3 separate regions of the Homo sapiens genome follow, and all the other regions are linked to region 1. The links are contacts of gene promoters, found by promoter capture Hi-C in human tissues and cell types (Jung and others, 2019). All regions are on one chromosome and are shown on one strand. Each heading gives the region's core, a stretch centred on a gene start or on the middle of the fragment in contact. The rest is flanking DNA. Distances are from core to core; before and after follow the strand shown. Region 1 overlaps ZNF791 (zinc finger protein 791). Region 2 holds the start of RAB3D (RAB3D, member RAS oncogene family). Region 3 holds the start of ECSIT (ECSIT signaling integrator).

Region 1 (3,117 bases), core at 320-2,819:
CACTGCAGCCTCCACCTCCCAGGTTCAAATGATTCTCCTGCTTCAGCCTCCCAAGTAGCTGGAATTACAGGTGCATGCCACCACGCTCAGGTAATTTTTGTATTTTTAGTAGAGATGGGGTTTCACCGTCTTGGCCAGGCTGGTCTCGAACTCCTGACCTCAGGTGATCTGCCTGCCTTGGCCTCCCAAAGTGCTGGGATTACAGGCATGAGCCACCATGCCTTGCCTTAACTTTTATATCGTGTGTGATGAATTTATATCATGGTGTGAATTTTCTGGAGCATTTTACAGGCAGAGATTGCTTAATCATGGGTATATGTTCTGAGAAACGTGTTGTAGGTGATTTCCTCATGGTACAAACATCACAAAGTGAACTTACACAAATCTAGATGGTATAGCTACAACACATCTAGACTATATGGTACAGTCTATTGCTACTAGGCTATAAACCATACAACATGTTGTTGTACTGAACACTGTAGGAAATTGTAACAAAATGTTAAGTATTTATGAGTCTAAACACAGAAAATACACAGAGTAAACATGCAGTATAAAAGATAAAAAAGGATGCACCTGCATAGGACACTCCATGAACATAGCTTGCAGGACTAGAAGTTGCTCTGGGTGAGTCAGTTGAGTGGTGAGTGAATGCGAAGGCCCAGGATGTTACTGTACACTAATGGAGAATTTATAAACACTGTACACTTGGACTACACTACATTCATAAAAACATTTTTTCCTCAATAATGAATAAACCTTAACTTACTGTACATTATTTTCTTTATAAACTTATTTTTAAAAACTTTGTAATAATTTAGCTTAAAACACATTGTACAGCTGTACAAAAATATTTTATGTCCATATTCTATAAGCTTTTTCTATTAAATTTTTTTAAACTATTTTTGTTAAAGACTAACTAAGACACAAACACACATTAGTGTAGGACTACACGGGGTGAGGATCATCAATATCATTGTCTTCTGCCTCCATGTTTTGTCCCGCCAGAATACGTTCAGGGGCAGTCCTGCACATGGAGCCGTCATCGCCTATCATAACAAAGTTTTTCCGGGAATATCTCCTTAAGGACCTGCCTGAGACTGTCTTACTGTTAAAAAAACACAGGAATACATTCTAAAACAGGATTGTAAATATATAAACCAGTAACTTAGCCATTTATTATCAAGTATATATTGCACATCTGTGCTGTAATTTTTTTTTTTTCGAGACGGAGTCTCGCTCTGTCACCCAGGCTGGAGTGTAGTGGTAGATCTCAGCTCACTGCAATCTCCACCTCCCGGGTTCAAGCGATTCTCCTGCTTTGGCCTCCCAAGTAGCTGGGACTACAGGCACACCAGAACGCCCAGCTAATTTTCGTATTTCTAATGGAGACAGGGTTTCATCATGTTGACCAGGCTGGTCTTGAACTCCTGACCTCAACTGATTCTCCCACCTCAGCCTCCCAAAGTGCTGGGATTACAGGTATGAGCCACTGTGCCCAGCCAATTTTTTTTTTTTTTTTTTGATACAGTCTCACTGTCACCCATGCTGGACTGCCATCACGTGATCTTGGTTCACTGTAGCCTTGAACTCCTGGGCTCAGGCAATCCTCCTGCCTCAGCCTCCCATGTAGATGGGACTACAGGGTGTGCTACCACACTTAGAAAATGTTTTTATTTTTTGTAGAGACAGGGTCTCACTAGGTTGACCAGAGTAGTCCTGGCATCAAGCAATCCTACTGCCTTAGTCTCCCAGTGTTGGGATCACAGGTGTGACCATGCCCAGCTGTGTTGTACTTTTTTTTTTTTTTTTTTTTTGAGACAGAGTCTCGCTCTGTTGGCCGGATCTCAGCTCACTGTCAGCTCGGCCTCCTGGGTTTATGCCATTCTCCTGCCTCAGCCTCCCAAGTAGCTGGGACTACAGGCGCCCACCACCACGCCCGGCTAATTGTTTGTATTTTTAGTAGAGATGGGGTTTTACCGTGTTAGCCAGGATGGTCTTGATCTCCTGGCCTCGTGATCCGCCCGCCTTGGCCTCCCAAAGTGCTGGGATTACAGGCGTGAGCCACCGTCCCCGGCCGCTGTCTTGTACTTTTATACAACTGAAAGTGCAGCACGTTTACACCAGCACCATAAACACTTAAATAATGTGCTGCACTATGGTGTTACTACTGCTACTAAATTGCGGTTGATAGAAATGTTTTAGGTGTTATATAATCTTATGGGGCTACCAACCTATATGGTCCATTGCTGACTGAAACATGATTATGTGGTACCTGACTATACATGAATCATCTTGTATCTCGCTTTCTATATTACTTACATTGACAGGATTTCTCTCTTCAGTGGGAATTTTCACAACTTTGAAAGCATCTGTTAGAATTGAAAACTTTCTCCTATTTCTCACATTTATAGAGTTTCTATCGATTGTGCATTCTCATATGTTTTTTTAAGGATGTGGACACACTGAAGGCTTTTCCACATTGCTTACATTCAAGAGGTTTCTCATAATTGTGAATTCTTGTATGTCTTTGAAAGGAACTGTGAAGACTAAAGGCCTTCCCACATTCTTTACATTTATAGGGTTTCTCTCCAGTATGCATTCTCATGTGTCCTTGAAAGCTTGTGGGATAAATAAAGGCCTTCCCGCATTCCTTACATTCATAAGGTTTCTCCCCAGTGTGAGTTCTTTTATGTATCCGAATGTAACTAGAACAACTAAAGGCTTTTCCACATTGTTTACATTCATAGGGTTTCTCTCCAGTGTGAGTTCTTTCATGTGTTCGTAACGCACTAGGAAAAATGAACACCTTCCCACAGTCCCTACATTTATAAGGTCCGTCTCCAGTGTGGGTGATCATGTGTCTTCGAAAGTTCTCAAGAGAAATGAAGGTTTTTGCACATTCCTTACACTCATAGGGTTTTTCTCCAGTGTGATTTCTCTTGTGGATTTTCAAATCTAGAGGATAATTGAAAGTTTTCCCACATTTTTTACATTCGTAGGGTTTCTCTCCAGTGTGAGTCCTTTCATGTATTCGAAAGTAACTGATTCTACTAAAGGCTTTCCCACATTCTTTACACTTATAGGGTTTCTCTCCAGTATGCACTCTCACGTGTACTC
Region 2 (3,117 bases), core at 382-2,881, 1.3 Mb after region 1:
TACTGAAGCCTCTCTCTCTCCCAGGCTCAAGCAATCCCCCTGCCTCAGCCTCCGGAGTAGCTAAGACTACATGTATGTGCCCCCATGGTCAGCTAATTTTTTTTTCTTTTTTCTTTTTTTCTTTTTCTTTTTTTTTTTTTTTTTTTTTTTGTGGCCAGCTAATTTTCAAAAAAATTTTTTGTAGAGTTGGGATCTCTATGTTGCCTAGGCTGGCCTTGAACTCCTGAGCTCAAGGAATCCTCCTGCCTCAGCCTCCCAAAGGGCTGGGATTACAGGCATCAGACACTGTGCCCAGCCTCATTTATTTTTTAATTTTTTTTTTTTTTTTTTTGAGACAGAGTCTCACTCCATCGTCTAGGCTGGAGTGCAGTGGCGCGATCTCGGCTCACTGCAACCTCCACCTCCTGGGTTCAAGCGATTCTCCTGCCTCAGCCTCCCAAGTAGTTGGGATTACAGGTGTGCACCACCATGCTCGGCTAATTTTTGTATATTTATTTATTTATTTGAGACAGAGTTTCGCTCTTTTTGCCCAGGCTGGAGTGCAGTGGCGTGATCTCGGCTCACTGCAACCTCCGCCTTCCGGGTTCAAGCAATTCTCCTGCCTCAGCTTCCAGAGTAACTGGGATTACAGGCATGCGTCACCACGCCTGGCTAATTTTGTATTTTTTAGTAGAGACAGGGTTTCTTCACGTTGGCCAGGCTAGTCTCGAACTCCCGACCTCAGGTGATCTGCCCACCTCGGCCTCCCAAAGTGCTGAGATTACAGGTGTGAGCCACCGTGCCCAGCCCCTAATATTTGTATTTTTTTTTTTTTTTTTTTAGTAGAGATGAGGTTTCACCATGTTGGCCAGGCTGGTCTTAAATTCCTGACCTCAAGTGATCCGCCTGCCTTGGCCTCCCAAAGTACTGGGATTACAGGCATAAGCCACCGCGCCCAGCTCTCGTTTATTTTTATTTATTTGAAACAGGGTCTTGCTCTGTTGCCCAGGCTGGAGTGCTGTGGTGCAATCAAGGCTCACTGCAGCCTCGATGTCTCCAGCAATCCTCCTGCCTCAGCCTCCCAAGTAGCTGGGGTTACAGACGCACGCCACCACACCTGGCTAATTTTTGTTATTTTTAGTAGAGATGAGGTCTCCTTACGATGCCCAAGCTGGTCTCAAACTCCTGGCCTCAAGTGATTCTCCTGCCTCGGCCTCCCAAACTGCTGTAATTACAGGCCACCGCGCCTGGCCTAGCCTACTTTAAGGCCGGCACTGCACTTGACAAACACTAACTCAGATCAGAATCCTCCCACAACTCTGTGAGGTTGGGTACTCTCGCTATGAGCTACTTGACGGATGGGGAAACTGAGGCTCAAAGAGGTTAAGTAACGCGTCCAAAGCCACAAGACTAGAAAGTGGTGGAGCTGGGACTCGAACCAGGCCCAAGACTCTATGCTTTTAACAGCCGTGCGTATAGTAGAAGCTCTTTACAAGCAGCTGGGAAAATGAGATGTTGCTTGGCTAGGACGGGCTCTAGACGCTTGGTGCAGCTTCCAGCCCCTCCCACCCGCTCTCTGAAAGCCCCGCCCAAGACTCGGCCCCTCTTCGTCCTCCCCCATCCCCCGCTCCGGGAACGGCCCTTCCTCCGCCTTCTGGGCGGAGCCCGCGCGGGATCCGGGTGGCTGCAGGCTGCTGGCTTCTGCGGCTGCGGGGTCGGGGTCGCGGCCAGGGCCAAGCCGCAGCGAGTTCACAGGCGGAACCCCTGCAGGCGGCGCCCCCTACGCGAGGTCACCCCTGGGAAGGAGCGCAGCCCACCCGGCCCCTCCGCATCCGAGCAGGTCTGTGGGGTACGGGGGTTTGGGAGGAAGGTAGGGGGTCTGGGGAACAAAGGCGGGGCTGCGGGGAACGCCTCTGCCCTCGCCCCCACCCAGCTGGGCACTTGGGAAGCGCTGATGGGGCGCGGGCGGGGCAGAGAGCCCAGCTGGGGACAGGCGTTGGGACCATATGGTGATGGGGGAAACTCCTGAGTCCACCTGCATTGGCTGGGGCGCCCCAAATCTAGTGAAGGGGAACAGAGGCGAGCCCTCCGGGGCCAGGCTTGAGGGAGGGTCGGCAGATGGTTAGAAAGAGGCGGGACCGACTGACACAGGTGAGCTAAGGCTGGGGGAGGTGGGGGCCCCAGCCTTGCGGCCCTGCCCTGCGTGGGGAAAGGTTTCCTGCCTCTTCTCTTCCCCTCCTTAAACTCGTTCTCCTGGAACACGGGGTGGGGCCGGTTGGGTCCTGGTTTAAAATGGAAAAAAGCCCCAAAGGCAGTTGAGAAATAGCTGTGCCAGGGCTGTCTCTGCCTCTGCCCCGCCTGCATCCAGGCCTTCTGCAGCCTCTCCGTGCGGTTCCCGCAGCGGCCATAGACAGCTGGGGAAACTGAGGCCTGGGAGAGGTTATGAGGGTTGAGGGAGCACCTTGGACTCGGATGAAGCAGCATGTTGGAGTGTGGGCAGATTCAAGGAGCCTAGCCGTGGGACAGATTGCCTGGAAAGACCAAGGGTGGGCGGCAGTGGTCGTGGTGGTGGGGTTGTGTTAATTAAGTGGCTGGGATCGTTTCCTTGGGTATAAGGACTCTCACTCCTGCCTCCGTGGACTGGGGCTGGAGTGAGTCAGCCTTGGGCAGAAGGAGACAGGCCTGGCCCCTTTGACAAATAGAAAATAGCAGTACCCATTTAGGGGGTAGAACTGGACTCTAAACCTGGGCCCTGTACATAGAAAACCCCTTCCCCTTGGAACTCAGAGAAGGGGTTGTATTTGGCATGAGTTGGTGGGCGGCAGGCGCCCCAGTGGCTGACACCTGCCAAAGTCAACACCCAAGCCTTAATCAGGGGCTCTATCCAGCTTATCCAGCTGGCAGGTCCTCCCCCCACCCCACCCCAGCTTACACCTGGGCCACACCGGCTGCACACGCTGGGGCGAAGTCCACACCTGTGCCTTCTCCAGAATCTAGTTCTGCAGGGGCCAGAGCCCCTTACCCTCGGCCTTGCACTTGAACCCTTTGCTAGGCCTCTGGGTTTCCAGATAGGAAAGGTCTCCCCACCCTCCACCCCAATACAGACTCAGTTACGCCACAGGGTGTGAAGATTAAACA
Region 3 (3,117 bases), core at 205-2,704, 1.1 Mb after region 1:
TTCTGATGAGGTGGATGTCCTGCGGCTGCGCAGAGTCCTTGAGGCATCCTAAGGGTAGGTTCTTGCATCCTAGTCTCCATGCCAGCTCACTGCGCCACAGAGGCTGAGGGACTGCAGAAATGGGCTTATGAGGGCAGATAGCCTTCCTTCCCGGGGGACACTGTTATTGCCAATAGCCCATTTTATGTGCTTATCCACCTTAGTTATTAACAGCCTAAATCTGGTGCTTTCTGGGGGAGACCAGGAGCCCCCATTACTCAATCTCACCTCGTTTTATCCCATTTCCTCCAAAGACTCCACTCCGACCACACAGAGTCTTTGCTGTTGTTCCCAGTGCCAAAAGCGTTCCCCAGATATCCAGATGGCTCACTCACTTCCTCCGGCCTTTACTCAAAGGACACCTCACTGAGGCCTTCCTATTTATTTATTTACTGAGACGGAGTCTCACTCTGTCGCCCAGGCTGGAGTGCAGTGGTGCTATATCGGCTCGCTGCAACCTCCACCTCCTGGGTTCAAGCAATTCTCGTGCCTCAGCCTCCCGAGTAGCTGGGATCACAGGAGCACGCCACCACGCCCCACTAATTTTTATTTATTTATTTATTTTTTGAGACAGAGTCTCGCTCTGTTGCTGAGGCTGGAGTGCAGTGGTGTTATCCTGGCTCACTGCAACCTCCGTCTCCCGGGTTCAAGCGATTCTCCTGCCTCAACCTCCCGAGAAGCTGGGATTACAGGCACCCACCACCATGCCCTGCTAACTTTGTATTTTTAGTAGAGACGGGGTTTCATCATGTTGGCCAGGCTGGTCTCGAACTCCTGACCTCAGGTGATCCGCAGGCCTCGGCCTCCCAAAGTGTTGGGATTACAGGCGTGAGCCACCGCGCCCTGCCCTATTTATTTATTATTACTATTTTTAGAAACAGGGTCTCACTCTGTTGCCCAGGCTGGAGTGCAGGGGTGCAATCATGGCTCGCTGTAGCCTCGACCTCCAGGGCTCAAGCGATCCTCCCGTTTCAGCCTCCCGAATAGCTGGGACTATGAGCATGCGCCATCATGCCCAGTTAATTTTTAAATTTTTTGTAGATAAGGGGGTCTCGCTATGTTGCCCAGGCTGGTCTCGAACTTCTGGCCTCCCAAAGTGCTGGGATTACAGGCATGAGCCACCGTACCGGCCCCCTTTCACTTTTTGTTTTTTTTTAATTCATTTTCTCATTTCAGCCGCTGGGGCCTGCGACTGGATTCATAGACTATGACTCCCAAGTCCAGCCTCCCGGGCCATTTCAAGGTTCCCAGGTCTGGAGTGCGTCTTGCCTCATTAGAGGCTGGGCCTGGCTCGTTATGAGGCGGGTCCCAGATCCTTCCGCCTTCCTATTGGCCCACCTCGCGTTGTGGGCGGGACCTATTACACCAGCTTTCTTGATTTGCTACCTCCCTGGAGCTCCCTGACCCGGACGCTCTCTGGGCCAATATGGCAGCGCCCAGCAACAAGACAGAGCTGGCCTGGAGTCCGCGGCTGGCCGCGTGAGTAGGTAGGTCGCGCGCGGGTAGGCGAACGCGAACTGCTGGGCTGCAGGCGGGCCCTTCAGGACCCGGCAGCGCGAGAGGGCAGCCCTGGAGGGACCCAGCTGCAGGGCCAGGGCGCCATGACCTTTCGTAGTGGGGGCGGGGACGCGCTGGGAAAGGCCGCCTGTCTTGTGCCAGCCGCCTCACGCCCCCAGTCTCCCATTTTGCAGATGACCTCGCGAGAGGTCACGCCGCAAGTCGGCAACCGGGCAGGATTTGGAATCCGCGTCTGCCTTTTTCCCCCAAGAGACCCAGAATCCTGGCAGCCGGTTTCAAAGCTGTTGTACGTACACCATACCTCGGGGTTCAGATTTATAGGTGTTTTTTTGAAATTGAGGCTTGTTTCCGTTCAGTTGTTACTCGTTAGGCATCTGTCATATACCAGGCACTGTCCTTGGTGCTGGAGACACAGCAATGAGGAAGATAGATAAAAATCTCTCATCTCCTGGGGGAACCAGACTTTGAACAAATTAGAAATAAACGAAACAGGTGATTTCAGATACTGATAAGTTACTAAAAATGCGTTAATGGTGTCGGGAATTTCGCTTGAGCCCAGGAGTTTCGAGACCAGCCTTGGCAACATAGCAAGACCCTGTTCTCTACAAAAAATTATCTGGGCGTAGTGGTGCACGCCTGTAGTCCTAGCTACTCGGGAAGCTGAGGTGGGAGGATTGCTTGAGCCCAGGAGGTTGAGGCTGTAGTGAGCCGTGATTGTGCCACTGCACCCCAGCCTGGGCAACAGAGCAGGACCCTGTCTCCGAAACAAAAATTAATAGGGTGATGAGGGCTTTTAGAATGTGGGGAATGGGAGATGGTCAAAGAAGACCTTTCATTGAAATGACCAGAGACAGCTGTGGGCAGATCTGGAGGAAGAAAGCTCTAGACAGAGAGAAAAGCAAGTACAAAGGTTCTGAGATGGGATAAACTTAGTTTCTTTCAGAAACAGTGTAGCTGAAGCTGCCAGTGGTAGGAGTTGAGTTTAGAGGGGTAGACCCTATCTGATTTTATTTATTTATTTTTATTTTTTAGAGACAGGATCTCACTTGTTCGTCAAGCCTGGAGTGCAGTGGTGCAGTGCACTCCATAGCTCACTGCAGCCTCAAACTCCATGGCTCAAGTGATTCTCCTGCCTCAGCTTTCCCAGTAGCTGGAACTACAGGTGCACACCACCAGGTCCAGCTAATTTTTTAAAATAATTTTTGTAAAGATCGTGTCCTGCTATGTTGTCCAGGCTGGTCTTGAACTCCTGGGCTCAAGCGATCCTCCCCACTTGGACTTCCAAAGCACTAGGATTATAGGCATGAGCCACTGCTCCCTGGCTATTTATTTATTTTTAGAGACAGGATCTCAGTATGTTGCCCAGGCTAGAGTGCAGTGGCTATTCACAAGTGCAGTCATGGTTCACTGCAACCTCTAACTACTGACCTTAAAGGATCCTCCAGCCTCAGTCTCCTGAGTACCTGAGATGACAGGCATTCACCACCATGCCTGGATAATTCTTAATTTTTTTGTAGAGATGGGGTCTCTCTATGTTGCCCAGGCTGGTCTTGAATCCCT

Evidence for each region. The method cuts DNA at HindIII sites, captures the fragments that hold promoters and counts their contacts. A contact is called where the count stands out against the background at its distance.
Region 2: a contact is called between the fragment with the promoter of RAB3D here and a fragment that was not itself captured in region 1, in 2 of the 25 tissues and cell types used here (heart right ventricle and small bowel).
Region 3: a contact is called between the fragment with the promoter of ECSIT here and a fragment that was not itself captured in region 1, in 1 of the 25 tissues and cell types used here (dorsolateral prefrontal cortex).

Annotation. Positions count from the first base shown.
Region 1 is chr19:12,628,560-12,631,676 of GRCh38, reverse strand. ZNF791 (zinc finger protein 791) reads right to left here. Exons shown (of 4, transcript NM_153358.3): 4 at 1-3,117. The coding sequence ends at 2,417. Among named protein-coding and RNA genes, the nearest start is that of ZNF791, 19 kb to the right of the region's middle. The HindIII fragment of the contact is 6,065 bases long and covers 1-3,117 here.
Region 2 is chr19:11,338,171-11,341,287 of GRCh38, reverse strand. It overlaps RAB3D (RAB3D, member RAS oncogene family), which reads left to right and starts at 1,631. Exons shown (of 5, transcript NM_004283.4): 1 at 1,631-1,819. RefSeq lists a silencer at 1,589-1,848. The HindIII fragment of the contact is 13,813 bases long and covers 1-1,838 here.
Region 3 is chr19:11,527,471-11,530,587 of GRCh38, reverse strand. It overlaps ECSIT (ECSIT signaling integrator), which reads left to right and starts at 1,454. Exons shown (of 8, transcript NM_016581.5): 1 at 1,454-1,526. The HindIII fragment of the contact is 19,805 bases long and covers 1-3,117 here.